Regions from separate parts of the Homo sapiens genome. Here all the other regions are linked to region 2. Evidence: promoter capture Hi-C in human tissues and cell types (Jung and others, 2019). All regions are on one chromosome and are shown on one strand. The core of a region is centred on a gene start or on the middle of the fragment in contact, and the rest is flanking DNA. Distances in the headings are between cores, read along the strand shown.

Evidence for each region. The method cuts DNA at HindIII sites, captures the fragments that hold promoters and counts their contacts. A contact is called where the count stands out against the background at its distance.
Region 1: a contact is called between the fragment with the promoter of CDC42BPG here and the fragment with the promoter of CDC42EP2 in region 2, in 1 of the 25 tissues and cell types used here (lymphoblastoid cells).
Region 3: a contact is called between the fragment with the promoter of GPHA2 here and the fragment with the promoter of CDC42EP2 in region 2, in 3 of the 25 tissues and cell types used here (dorsolateral prefrontal cortex, lymphoblastoid cells and spleen).

The regions. Positions count from the first base shown.
Region 1 is chr11:64,842,391-64,846,509 of GRCh38, reverse strand. CDC42BPG (CDC42 binding protein kinase gamma) reads left to right here and starts at 1,857. Exons shown (of 37, transcript NM_017525.3): 1 at 1,857-2,100. The coding sequence starts at 1,941. RefSeq lists silencers at 1,678-2,027, 2,038-2,087, 2,118-2,167 and enhancers at 2,382-3,194, 3,219-3,513, 4,007-4,119. The HindIII fragment of the contact is 4,484 bases long and covers 1-2,490 here.
Region 2 is chr11:65,312,479-65,316,334 of GRCh38, reverse strand. It overlaps CDC42EP2 (CDC42 effector protein 2), which reads right to left and starts at 1,469. Exons shown (of 2, transcript NM_006779.4): 1 at 1,381-1,469. LOC105369344 (a long non-coding RNA gene) reads left to right here and starts at 1,646. Exons shown (of 3, transcript XR_007062727.1): 1 at 1,646-2,564. RefSeq lists silencers at 512-671, 842-971, 1,432-1,811. The HindIII fragment of the contact is 18,736 bases long and covers 1-3,856 here.
Region 3 is chr11:64,933,932-64,938,115 of GRCh38, reverse strand. It overlaps GPHA2 (glycoprotein hormone subunit alpha 2), which reads left to right and starts at 2,223. Exons shown (of 4, transcript NM_130769.4): 1 at 2,223-2,282; 2 at 2,656-2,758; 3 at 2,941-3,125; 4 at 3,242-3,645. The coding sequence starts at 2,656. The coding sequence ends at 3,343. It overlaps PPP2R5B (protein phosphatase 2 regulatory subunit B'beta), which reads right to left. Exons shown (of 14, transcript NM_006244.4): 14 at 3,641-4,184. The HindIII fragment of the contact is 7,271 bases long and covers 1-4,184 here.

The sequences.
Region 1 (4,119 bases), core at 608-3,107, 470 kb after region 2:
GAGGCAAACCCCTAAACAGGTCTTTTAATGAAATAATGTGTTGGCCAGTGGCTACAGCCTGTAATCCCAGCGCTTTGGGAGGCTGAGGCAGGCAGATCACTTGAGTCCAGGAGTTTGAGATCAGCCTAGGCAACATGGCGAAACCCCATCTCTATAAAAAATACAAACATGGCTGGGCCCAGTGACTCACGCATGTAATCCCAGCACTTTGGGAGGCCGAGGCAGAAGGATCACCTGAAGTCAGGAGTTTGAGATCAGCCTGGCCAACATGGCAAAACCCTATCTCTACTAAAAATACAAAAATTAGCTGGGTGTGGTGGCACATGCCTATAATCCCAGCTACTTGGGAGGCTGAGGCAGGAGACTCTCTTGAACCTGGGAGGCAGAGGTTGCAGTGAGCCGAGATCGTGCCACTGCACTCTGGCCTGGGTGACAGCGTGAGACACCATCTCAAAAAACAAAACATCAGCCTGGCCTAGTGGTGTGAGCCTGTAGTCTCAGCTATTCGGGAGGCTGAGGTGGGAGGATCACTTGAACCCAGGAGGTTGAGGCTGTGGTGAGCTACGATTGCACCACTGCACTCCAGCCTAGGGGACAGAGTGAGACCCTGTCTCAAAAAAGAGAAAGAAGTGTTGTCTAGGCCGGGTGTAGTTGCCCATGTCTGTAATCCCAGAACTCCGGGAGGCCAAGGTGGGAGGATTACCTGAGCCCAGGAGTTCGAGACCAGCCTGGTCAACATAACAATAACCCTTGACTCCAAAAAGTAAAATAAAAAATCAGCTGGGTGTGGTGGCATCTGCCTGTAATCCCAGCTACTCAAGAGGCTGAGGCAGGAGCCTAAGAGGTCAAGGCTGCAGTGAGTTATGATTGCATCACTGCACTCCAGCATGGGTGACAGAGAGACCCTGTCTCAAAAAAAAAAAAAAAAAAGTGTTGTCTGAAGCCACCAATATGTCCCACCCTTTGATCTCTCCTCATGGTGCCTGGTCCATCCCAGCTGGACAGAAATCAGAAATACCACTGGACAGAGCCAGCCCCTCCCCTCCCCAACCTCCTCCAGCCTATCTCAGACCTCTCCTTGCCCTTCACGTTCCAGGTCAGACCTCAGGCCCTGCTCCTACTGAAGCTTAAAACGCCTGTGGTGTTGGTACCAGCCCAGCTCCACCTCCACCCCAGGGTCTAACTTAAGAGCCACCTTGTCCTCAGCCCCTCAATTCGCCTTCCTCCTTCCCAAGCCTCAGTGTGTCCATCTGCCAAATGGGCGTGACCATCCCTACCCCAACTTCCTGTCTCCCACATCAACTCTAATGATACAATCAAAGTAAGATTCAGAAACTTTTTTTTGGGCGGGGGCGGGGGGGCGATGGGTGCCAAGCGCGGGCAAACCATGGAGAGAGCGAACTACAATTCCCATCCGGCTCCGGGGCCGCGGGCGTCCCTAGCCCCTCTCTCTTAGCCAAGGGCAAGGCGGCTGCGACCCAGGGGGCGAGAGAAGTTGCAGTGCTCCGCGCCTCCTGGGTCAGGGCCCAGGGAGGGCCCAGGTAAGTCTGGGTCTGGGGCCGCGCGGGGATCTGGGGAGTCTTTCCGACCCCGCAGAACCCCACCGCGCCCCGCGCAGAAGTCAGTTGTTCTCCCCGGCCCGCCCCCGCACTTCCTGGCCGGGAGTTGGGCCCGCCCCCGCGCGCCTCCGCCCCCACCTTCACCTCTAGCCGCGGCTCCCATTGGCCGGCGCGCACCTGCCCGTCCGTCGGGGGGCGGGGCGCGGCGCCCAGGTGAGGGCGCGCTGGCGGCGGCGGAGGAAGGTGACAGCGGGGAGGGCGGGAGAGGGGCGGGGGAGGACGCGCGGACAGAGCCTCAGACGGTTGGGCGGACGGACGGCCCGACAGGCGGGCATGCGGGCGGCCAGACTGTAGCCGAGCAGCGAGGCTCCGGCCGCAGCCATGGAGCGGCGGCTGCGCGCGCTGGAGCAGCTGGCGCGGGGCGAGGCCGGCGGCTGCCCGGGGCTCGACGGCCTCCTAGATCTGCTGCTGGCGCTGCACCACGAGCTCAGCAGCGGCCCCCTACGGCGGGAGCGCAGCGTGGCGCAGTTCCTGAGCTGGGGTGAGTGGCGGGGCGGCACGGAGCGGGGGCGGGCCTAGGGATATCGCGCCGAGACCCCCGCACCCGCAGACTTTCCCGCAGGGACCCGCACCCCCACGGGCTTCCCTCGCAGACTCCCTGCAGTGGCCCTGACGCGTACCACCGGACCCCCGCGGCCCGCACACTCGCCTGCACACCTCACCCTCACTCCAATTCTCACACACGCTCTCTCCCTCTCACAGACCCCGACACATGCACACACATACCAACTTGTGCTCAGGTATCGACCGCAGACGCATGTACCCAGTGCACCGCCTAGAGTCCCTTACAGATTTCCTTGCTTACAGGCCACACCTGACGCAGGACACACACAGACCCTCATGCATGTCACCCACTGATACACGGGCTCTGTTTCTCCTTCCTCTCGGATGCATTGAGACACACAACTCATGGAGAGACCCAGGGAGCGCTGCAGACCACCCCGACCGCATTGGCACTGCAAAACACACAGATCTGTAGGTATCGCACACTTGCAGACCTTCCCCCCACCAACACACACACCCCCAGCTCCCTGGGTACAAGACCACTGCAGCCTGGACTCAGGAACCGATCTCCAACCCTTGGCCTGTGCAGGCTGCTGGCCAAGCTCCTTGGGGGCTGTGGCGCCGGGGCCGGGGAGGGGGGCCTAGCTGGAGATGGGTCTGTACCTTTCCTGGTAGACTCATCTGAGTCATTGGGAGTGGCTGGCCCGGGGTGACCCTGAACCCACTGTGGGCACTGGCGCCAGCTGGAGGGTTCCCTGGTCACACCCTGCCGGGCCATGGGGAAAAGGCACGGGGGCCTGGCCAGGGCGGGGTGAGGCAGGTGTTTGCCCAGTGGGCAACTAGCGTTCCTGGCACTCCTGAGCTCTGGGAAGGCACAAGGCCTGGGGTAGAGGGGGAGGCTGCCACCTAGATGTGCCAGGGAGTTGTCCCCTAGCCCCAACCCTTCCATCCAGGGCGAGGCAGTCAGAGGCCCCTGCCTCTGTGCCTGTCTCCCTGGTATGCCTCCGTGCTATGCCTGTCTGCCTGTGTTGTTGTCACCCCCCCCATGACACCCACACACGTGTGTGTGTTTGCACACACATGTGTGCTCCTCCCTGACTGCCTCCAGCACCTCTGCCTGGGACCCCGGCATGGGGGCCCTCTGTTGACAATCTCCCAAGGTAACTCAAAGGGCTGTGACTCATTCCTCTCCTGCTTGTCTCTACTTGTCCCTGCTCCTGCCCGGAGCCCCCATGCCCTGTGGGAGGCCAGAGGATTAGGCAGCCTGTCCAGGGGCCTGGATCCTCCTGCCTGTGGGCCTGGGCTTCGGCCCTCTTCTGGCGGGTGGGTCCCTATGGTGCTGGCTTCAACTCCCACGGGGAGGCCCGGGGCTGCTCCTCCCCAGCTCCACACACAGACCTGGGAAAGAGACAATGAATTTCTGTAATGAGGTTTCCACCCCGCCCCCGCTGCGGGCTTCTGCCTGATAAACCTGTGGAACAGCTCTCTGTCCCACCCACAGACCCGCCCAGCTGGCAGGGAGTTTACCTCCTGGCAGGGGGAAACTGAGGCAGGGCGCCAGACCACAGCTGCCCCCCATCCTGACTGATCACTCCTGCCTCCCTAAGACCCAATTCCTTCCCAAAACCTGGGGCTAATCCAGGCCTGGAAAGTGCCTGGGAGTGGCTGGAGTTGCCCTTCCTGGAGGTATCTGGGATGTGAGGAAAGAGGACGTTCTTGACCAGACAAAAGCTTCGTCCAGACAGGGAGGCAGGGCTGGGAGTGAGAGAGCCGGTCAGGCCTGGAGGCATCCTGAGCACTCACGCCTTCAGGGGCTAGTGCTAGCACCAGGGAAAGGCATCTTTGTCCTGTTTGTGAGTCTCAGCACCTTGGCAGACTGGCATCCATGCCTCCAGCCTGAGGGGCCCCACGTGGGAAGCATAGAGCCTGTCCTCCCTGCCCTAGGGGCTGCAGGCCTCACCCCCAACCAGGCACCTCTATGCCTACAGGGTCCCGG
Region 2 (3,856 bases), core at 220-2,719:
TGCAGCAGTCGGGGAGCAGATAGGAGCATCCTAGCTCTCTGTGATTGCCCTGGACAGGAGCCCTGGACCTCCCAATGAGAAAATGACTTCCGGCAGGCAGGGATCCTCCTATCATGAAGAATATTAGGCCACCTCACACCCCCTCTTCTCCTAAATCAGGAGACTGTCCTTAAATCCAGCTCCACCTGGGACTTCCTCAGTAACCTTCAGCAAGACGCCTCTCCTCTCTGGGTCTCACCTTTCCCATCTATAAAATGGGCTGACAACGAAGCCACCACTAAAGGGCCACTGGAGATCCCACTGCAATATTGCAGGTGAGAGCGCCAATGTACAATAGCGGGGTTCAGCGGGTCACTGTAGGTTTTATCATTCATTCAGCAAATATCTACAAGGCCTTCCTTCCTCAAGCACTTCGATTCTCCGGGGCCAGTGCTTTGAACAATAGCAAAAACGAAGGGCTCCTGACCCCAGGCGTCCACCTCCTCCCGCCCTCCTAGACCTCGAGGATGCAGAGACCCTCTAGCGGCCGCTGGGTCTCCCGGGGTCCCGGTGCCTCCGGAGAGGTGCCCGGCTCCGCGGCCGCCAGGTGGCGCGCGTGCTCCCTTGATCGCCTCGTGTCCCGGAGGACTCCGAGAGCGCACCGGGGTCTCCAGCGCCCCTCCCCCGGGCTCCAGGCAGGCGGTCCCCAAGGAGCTGCGCGTTCAAGTACCAGATGGGGATTACCTGCGAGATCTTTTTGCTTCGGGGTTTCTGGTCCCACAATCGGGGAAAAAGGGGGCGATTGGGGACCCTGCCCTAGTCTCCAAGCTCTGGGAGGAGCCTCCCCCCTGTGCTTTCCGGCCTGGGCGATGTCCTAGTGTCCGCTCGGCACAGGGCCAGAGCTCGGGCGTGCGGGCCCCCGCCCCTCCCACGGGTCCGGCTCCTTAGCTCCGGCTCGGGTTCCTGCGCCGACCCCTCCCCACTCCTACCCGGGCGGAGCCCAGCCCAGCCCGGATCCGTTTCAGGACATTCGCGGCCGCAGCTAAAGATAGGAGAACAACTCACTATCGGCTAAAAATACGGCCCCCAGCCCCGGTGGGGATGCTGGGCGGCGGGGCACCCCTGGGTCTCGGGAGGGGGGCGGGGGCCCGGACACAAAATGGAGGGCAGAACGGGGAATTCGGGGTCGGGATGCGTTGCGCCCCCACGGACCGTGGCGGGCACGGGCGAGGCTGCGGGAACCCAGATGCGGGTGGGAAGCCCCATGGAGCCCTAGGAGCCCTCGAAAGGAACTGAGTGAGGTGAGAGGCAGAGCCAGGGCGCGAGCTGGGGCGGGGCGCCACAGAGATGGGCCTCTCGGGGGACCCCCGCGAAGCTGCGAAAATCCCAGCCCGAACTCACCGTGAGGCGCGCAGACGGCAGACCGGCGGACAGCAAGGTCTCAGGAGCTGGACAGCGCGGCGGCCGGACCCGACCGGCGGTGAACTTACAGAGTGCACCGCGGACCCCGCAGCCCCGCCCCGGCCCGCGGAGCCAATGCCGGGGCCGCGCCAGCCAAGCCCCTCCCCATCCCCGCCCAGGCCCCGCCCCACTCCGGGCACCGCCCGGGGCTCCCGGCGTGGGAGGTGCCGCTCCCGGGTCCAGCGGTCGCGCGCGCCCTGGAGTCCTGTCCTGGTTCTGGCGGCTGAGGGCCGGGTGGCGCAGGCGGCCTCCGGCTGTGCCCATGGGAACTAAAACCTTCGGTTCTAGAAGAGCCGGGGGAGAGGCTCCGGGAAGACCGAATTCTTCAGAAATCGCAGAGAGACCTTGGACCGGATCCTTCCCTGCAGGGCTGCGTCGGGGAAGCGCCGGCACAAGTATATTCAGCGACTTCCTTGGAAGCGCCTACGTTAGAATACTACAAACTTACAAGCTAGTTGATCAGTTTACCTCCCACTAGAAAAGACAGTATGGGAAGGCAGAGGCCGCGTGGCCTGGACCCCCGTCTTTGCTGTCAGGCTTCCAGAGTGAAGGTGGGGCTCATATTCAGACTAGTTCCTGGTCCATTCATTCTTTCAGTCAGTCAGTCAGTCATTCCTACAGGGCCAGAAACTTTTTTTTTTTTTGAGACAGAGTTTCGCTCTTGTTGCCCAGACTGCTCACCGCAACCTCCGTCTCCTGGGTTCAAGAGATTCTCCTGCCTCAGCCTCCCGAGTAGCTGGGATTACAGGCATGTGCCAGCACACCTGGCTAATTTTTGTATTCTTAGTAGAGACGGAGTTTCTCCATGTTGGCCAGGCTGGTCTCGAATTCCCGACCTCAAGTGATCTGCCCGCCTCGGCCTCCCGAAGTGCTGCAATTACAGGCGTGAGCCACCGCGCCCGGCCCAGAAACATGTTTTGAAGGGCAGGCACCGCACAGGGTGCTGGAGACAGACTGAAGGAAACTGCACCTCTCAGTGACTCAAGAGAGATTTGTTGAGTATCTACCAAGTGCCTAGCGCTGTTCTTGTCCCTGGGGATTCAGCCTCTGGATTGGGACCTGCAGCCCAGAGAAGGGAAATGGGGGAAATCCAAGTTCCCAGGTACATCATGATACCCTTCCAGGTGGGTAAGTGCTAAGAAGAGTGGGGCAGAGGAAGTGGTGGGTAGTGACGGGGTGGACAGACCTCACTTTCTAGAGGATGACAGCTATGCCAGCTCAGTGTGACCAGGATGGTTGGCTTCAATGCTGTCAGTGTGGGAAGGGCTTTTAGGGAGGCAGAGCCGGGAAGACCTCAGTGGGGGAGGCAGGATGCTGGGGGTGGGGGAAGATGCCAGACAAGCTGGGAGGTCCGGATGGGAAGAAGGGGATCATGGTAGGTAAAATAACAGCCCCCCTAAATATGTTCACATCTAGCCAGGTGCTGTGGCTCATGCCTATAATCCCAGCACTTTGGGAGGCCAAGGTGGGAGGATTGCTTGGGTCCAGGAGTTTGACACTGACACCAGCCTGAGCAACATAGTGAGACCCTGTTTCTACAACAAATAAATTAGCCGGACATGGTGGCTCAAGCCTGTAGTCCCAGGTACTCTGGAGGCTTAGGTAGGAGAATTGCTTGAACCTGGGAGGTTAAGGCTGCAGTGAGCTGTGATCACGCCACTGCACTCCAGCCTGGGCAATAGAGCAAAAACCCATGTAAAAAAAAAAAAAGAAAAGAAAAAAAGCCCACATCCGAACCTGTGTAATCTATGAATATGTTTTGTTACATGAGAAATGGAAATGAAAATTGCCAATGAGGGCTGGGCGCCGTGGCTCATGCCTGTAATCCCAGCACTTTGGGAGGTCAAGGCAGGTGGATCACGAGGTCAGGAGATCGAGACCATCCTGGCTAATATGGTGAAATCCCGTCTCTACTAAAAATACAAAAAAAAAAAAAAATTAGCCGAGCATGGTGGCAGGCACCTGCAGTCCCAGCTACTCGGGCGCCTGTAGTCCCAGCTACTCAGGAGGCTGAGGCAGGAGAATGGCATGAACCTGGGAGGCGGAGCTTGTAGTGAGCCGAGATCGCACCACTGCACTCCAGCCTGGGCGACAGAGCGAGACTCCGTCTCAAAAAAAAAAAAAAGAAAAAAAAGAAAATTGCCAATGAAATTATGGTTGCAAATCAGCTGACTTTAAAATAGCTTATGCTGAAGTATCTGGGTGGGCCAGTGTAATAACAAGGGTTTTTAAAAGTAGAAGCAGGAGACAGAGAAAGAGATGTGATAGGCCGGGCGTGGTGGCTCACGACTCACGCCTGTAATCCCAGCACTTTGGGAGGCTGAGACGGGTGGATCACAAGGTCAGGAGTTCAAGACCATCCTGGCTAACACGGTGAAACCCCGTCTCTACTAAAAATACAAAAAATTAGCTGGGT
Region 3 (4,184 bases), core at 974-3,473, 380 kb after region 2:
GGTAGGTGAGTTTGTGCCAGAGGTTAGGGAATGGGGTCTTTCAAGACTCACTGTCCTGAGCCCTGCTCACCCAAGAGACCTCTTCCCCAGTTCCAGTTTGGCCCCAAATGGTTGCCTCTCCATAGACAAAATGTTTCCCACCTCTCTATCCCTTTAACTGTTTGACAGTAATGCAGATTCGTTTATCAGATTAACTGGAAGTCAATCCAGGTTGGCACCCCTGGAGAAGGCCTGGCCACCTGAGCTGCCTTCAACTAAAGGACTGATCTGTAATAGACACTTTAGCCTCATGTGGCCGTGGAGAACCAAAATGATCTATGGAAATGTAGGGAAACTCATTTTAGCTCACAACAAAGGAGTCACTTTTTACCTGTTAGAGATGTCCAATATTAGAATGGGCTACCTCATAAGGTAATGAGCCTTGTCACCCAAATGCTTTAAACAGAAGCCATCATCTGTCACATGCCAGAGGGTGCCCCTCAAGAGTGGGAGAGCAGGGGCTGAACTGCTGAGTTCCCGCTGCGTCCTGTTGCTATGCTGCCTGCACCCTTGGTGGGGAGAAGAGAAGAGGTGGACTGCTGCGGAGGACCTGGCAAACAAGGACCCAGGTCTTGAGGGGATGGGGGCTGATGGGGAAACCGTAGGGTGTGGGAATTTAAGGATTAGTGACATTAGTAACATCACTTCCTCTCAAATTGCGTTTACAGCCTTTACTCGACTGTCCCAAACATGGCCTGTTTTACAAAGCTGCTAAGAAGCACAGCTCCAAATCTGGAGCTGTGAGTGCCCGCCCTGACTCTGACTAGCTTACAGTGAAGCTTTGGGAAGTTGTTTTCCGCTGAGCTCTTATTTTCTCATCCAGAAAATGAGGGGGTAGGATTTGGTGAGTTATAAAGTGCCTTCTAGCTCTAGCAGTCTGTGACTGGCCCTGCTCTTTCTGAGCAGATCAGTGAGGCAATGACCCCAAAGCGGGGCTGCCCAGAATCACCACAGGCTTCCTTTGGCTCTCCACCTTGCCCCAACCCCTCTGGCCACTGCTGCCTGGGGGTCTTTCTCCAGCTTGCCACATTCTTGCTCAAGTGTAGTTTAGCACCATGGATGGACAGCAGATTTGAATTTGAAATCAGCCCTAACATTAACTAGCTGGGTGACTTTTAGTAACTTTCTTTCTTTGAGCCTTAGTTGCCTCATCTATAAAACCAGAGTTGGACAAATAGATCAGCTTTGCTGGGGTTGATAACTTCAGGCCCTTTCAGGAGTCAGGTCCCTGTTATTCCAGGGCTAGGGGAGCACTCCAGCTCAGAACGTTACTCTGTAGCACAGGATGCGAATCATCCACTGATACCGTGGCCATGCAACTCTGAAACAGACAGCAACCCCCAAACCCCCGGCCCTGCCACCAAGCACATCTCAGGAGACCTCCACTGGTATAATTTCCCTTGTCCCTAAGAATCTCCTTCCCCAATCCCTTTCCTTTGCAGTTAGAAAAAGGCAAGCAGGACTGAGTTTAGTGGTTTTAAAATTAGGGGTGTGGCCAGGCACAGTGTCTCATGCCTGTAATTCTAGCACTTTGGGAGGCCTAAGCAGGCGGATCACTTGAGCTTAGCAGTTCAAGACCACCATGGGCAACATGGCAAAATCCTGTCTCTACAAAAAAATACAAAAGTTAGCTGGTCATAGTGGTGTGCCTGTGGTCCCAGCTACTCAGGAGGCTAAGGGGGAGGATGGCTTGAGTCTGGGAGGCTGGGAGGTGGAGGTTGCAGTGAGCCGAGATAACACCACCACACTCCAGCCTAGGTGACAGAGCCAGACCCTCTCAAAATAATAGTAATAAATAATAATAAAGTTAGGGGTGATCAGGCCCTGAACAGGGAAATGTTCTGTCCAAGGTCACAGAGCAAAGAGAACCCAGGTGTCCACAACTCAGCCAAGAGTCTTGACCCCTGTGTCGTCAGCTGCACACACGCTGCACACTCCACCAGCTCCTAGGCTTCTCTCCACATCTGACTTATCGAGGCCTGGGCTGTGGGTAGCTTTTTGGACAGAAAGAAGCAGAAAGCAGCAGGAGCTGCTCTCCGAGGACCGCACCTCAAAGAGCAAGATCCCCCAGGTGGGATCGCTCTGAGGCTTCAGGCAGGGGAGGCTGGTTTGAAAGCCGATCTCCAAGAGGGCGTGGCTCCAAAATGCTGGCAAATAAAAGCCTGGAGAGCCAGCACCAAGCTGGAGACCAGCAGGAGGCACAGGAAAACTGCAAGCCGCTCTGTTCCTGGGCCTCGGAAGTGGTGAGCTCGCTGAGGCAGGAGGAGCTCTGGGGAGGGTCTGGGAATGTGGACGAGGGCCCTGCAGGCCAAGATGGGGCAGATGGAGGGAGGAAGATGTTTGCGCTCCAGATGGCGAAGAAAATTCCAGGGAAGGGAGAATCACTGCACAGAGGGCTGACACACAGGTCCTTTCCAGAGACAGCTGCTCACACTCACACCCATACACACACACACACACACACAAAGGCAGATACAGGGAAAAGGCAGCACCATTCAGGCACACCTCACCTGTCAGACCAGCCAGCCCTGGCTCACTCACCTGGAATGCAGTATTTAAAGAACTCGCCATCCCACCTGCACACCCACGTAGAGACATCTCCCCACTGTGTTTCAGATGCCTATGGCGTCCCCTCAAACCCTGGTCCTCTATCTGCTGGTCCTGGCAGTCACTGAAGCCTGGGGCCAGGAGGCAGTCATCCCAGGCTGCCACTTGCACCGTGAGTACCTCTGGGACCGGAGGGCTAGGAGCAGTGGAGGTTCTGGGTGGGAGCAAAGAGCTGAGTGGACGGTGGGGCAGGCAGCACCCTAAAGGGCCCCACACTGAGGCACAGGCAACGGGAGCTGGGGCGAGGCAAACCTTGGCAGAGGCGCCGTCTACTGCTTGCCTATCTCCTTCTAGCCTTCAATGTGACAGTGCGAAGTGACCGCCAAGGCACCTGCCAGGGCTCCCACGTGGCACAGGCCTGTGTGGGCCACTGTGAGTCCAGCGCCTTCCCTTCTCGGTACTCTGTGCTGGTGGCCAGTGGTTACCGACACAACATCACCTCCGTCTCTCAGTGCTGCACCATCAGTGGCCTGAAGAAGGTGAGGAGGGCCCGGGCCCGGTGGATGGACGCTGGGGTCGCGGGAAGACCAGAGAGATGGAGATCCTAGACAGCCCTGAGAAAGGGGACTGCAGCACGGACTCCCCTCTCCCGCAGGTCAAAGTACAGCTGCAGTGTGTGGGGAGCCGGAGGGAGGAGCTCGAGATCTTCACGGCCAGGGCCTGCCAGTGTGACATGTGTCGCCTCTCTCGCTACTAGCCCATCCTCTCCCCTCCTTCCTCCCCTGGGTCACAGGGCTTGACGTTCTGGTGGGGGAAACCTGTGTTCAAGATTCAAAAACTGGAAGGAGCTCCAGCCCTGATGGTTACTTGCTATGGAATTTTTTTAAATAAGGGGAGGGTTGTTCCAGCTTTGATCCTTTGTAAGATTTTGTGACTGTCACCTGAGAAGAGGGGAGTTTCTGCTTCTTCCCTGCCTCTGCCTGGCCCTTCTAAACCAATCTTTCATCATTTTACTTCCCTCTTTGCCCTTACCCCTAAATAAAGCAAGCAGTTCTTGAATTTCTCTCTTTATTAAGTCTACCCCCAGCCACGGAAAGAGGAGTAGACCATGATTACTGTGAACCCCCCCTTACCCCAGGACACTGTGAATCTCTTCTTGCCTGTGCCCTCCCCCTCCCCCTGCCCAATAAATAAAAAGGGGACAAGGAAGTACACAGCGAGGGAAGGGAGGAGTGTGCACCCAGGACAGTGTCTGTGTAGAGGGTGAGCTGGGCGAGAATAAATAGACCATGGACCCCATGGTGGGGATAAGGAAGGACCTCGCATTGGCCAAGGCAGGGGCAGGCGAGGCGCTGAGTGCCCTTGCCCAAGGCCAGGAGCAGAGGGTGGGAGCCCGCCTGCAGCTGGAGCCTAGCTTTGCGGGGCAGGGGAAGATCCCTGATGGCAGCTTCCTGGTCAAGCTTGCCCTTGTCAAGTCCTGCCACGAGGGGCTGAGCATTCTGTTGCCAAGACCACCATTGCCTCTCCTCGTCTCCCCCCAGTGAAAGCTGGGCTGGGCAGGGAGTCCTCAGAAGCCACTCTGGCAAGGCCAGGGGTAG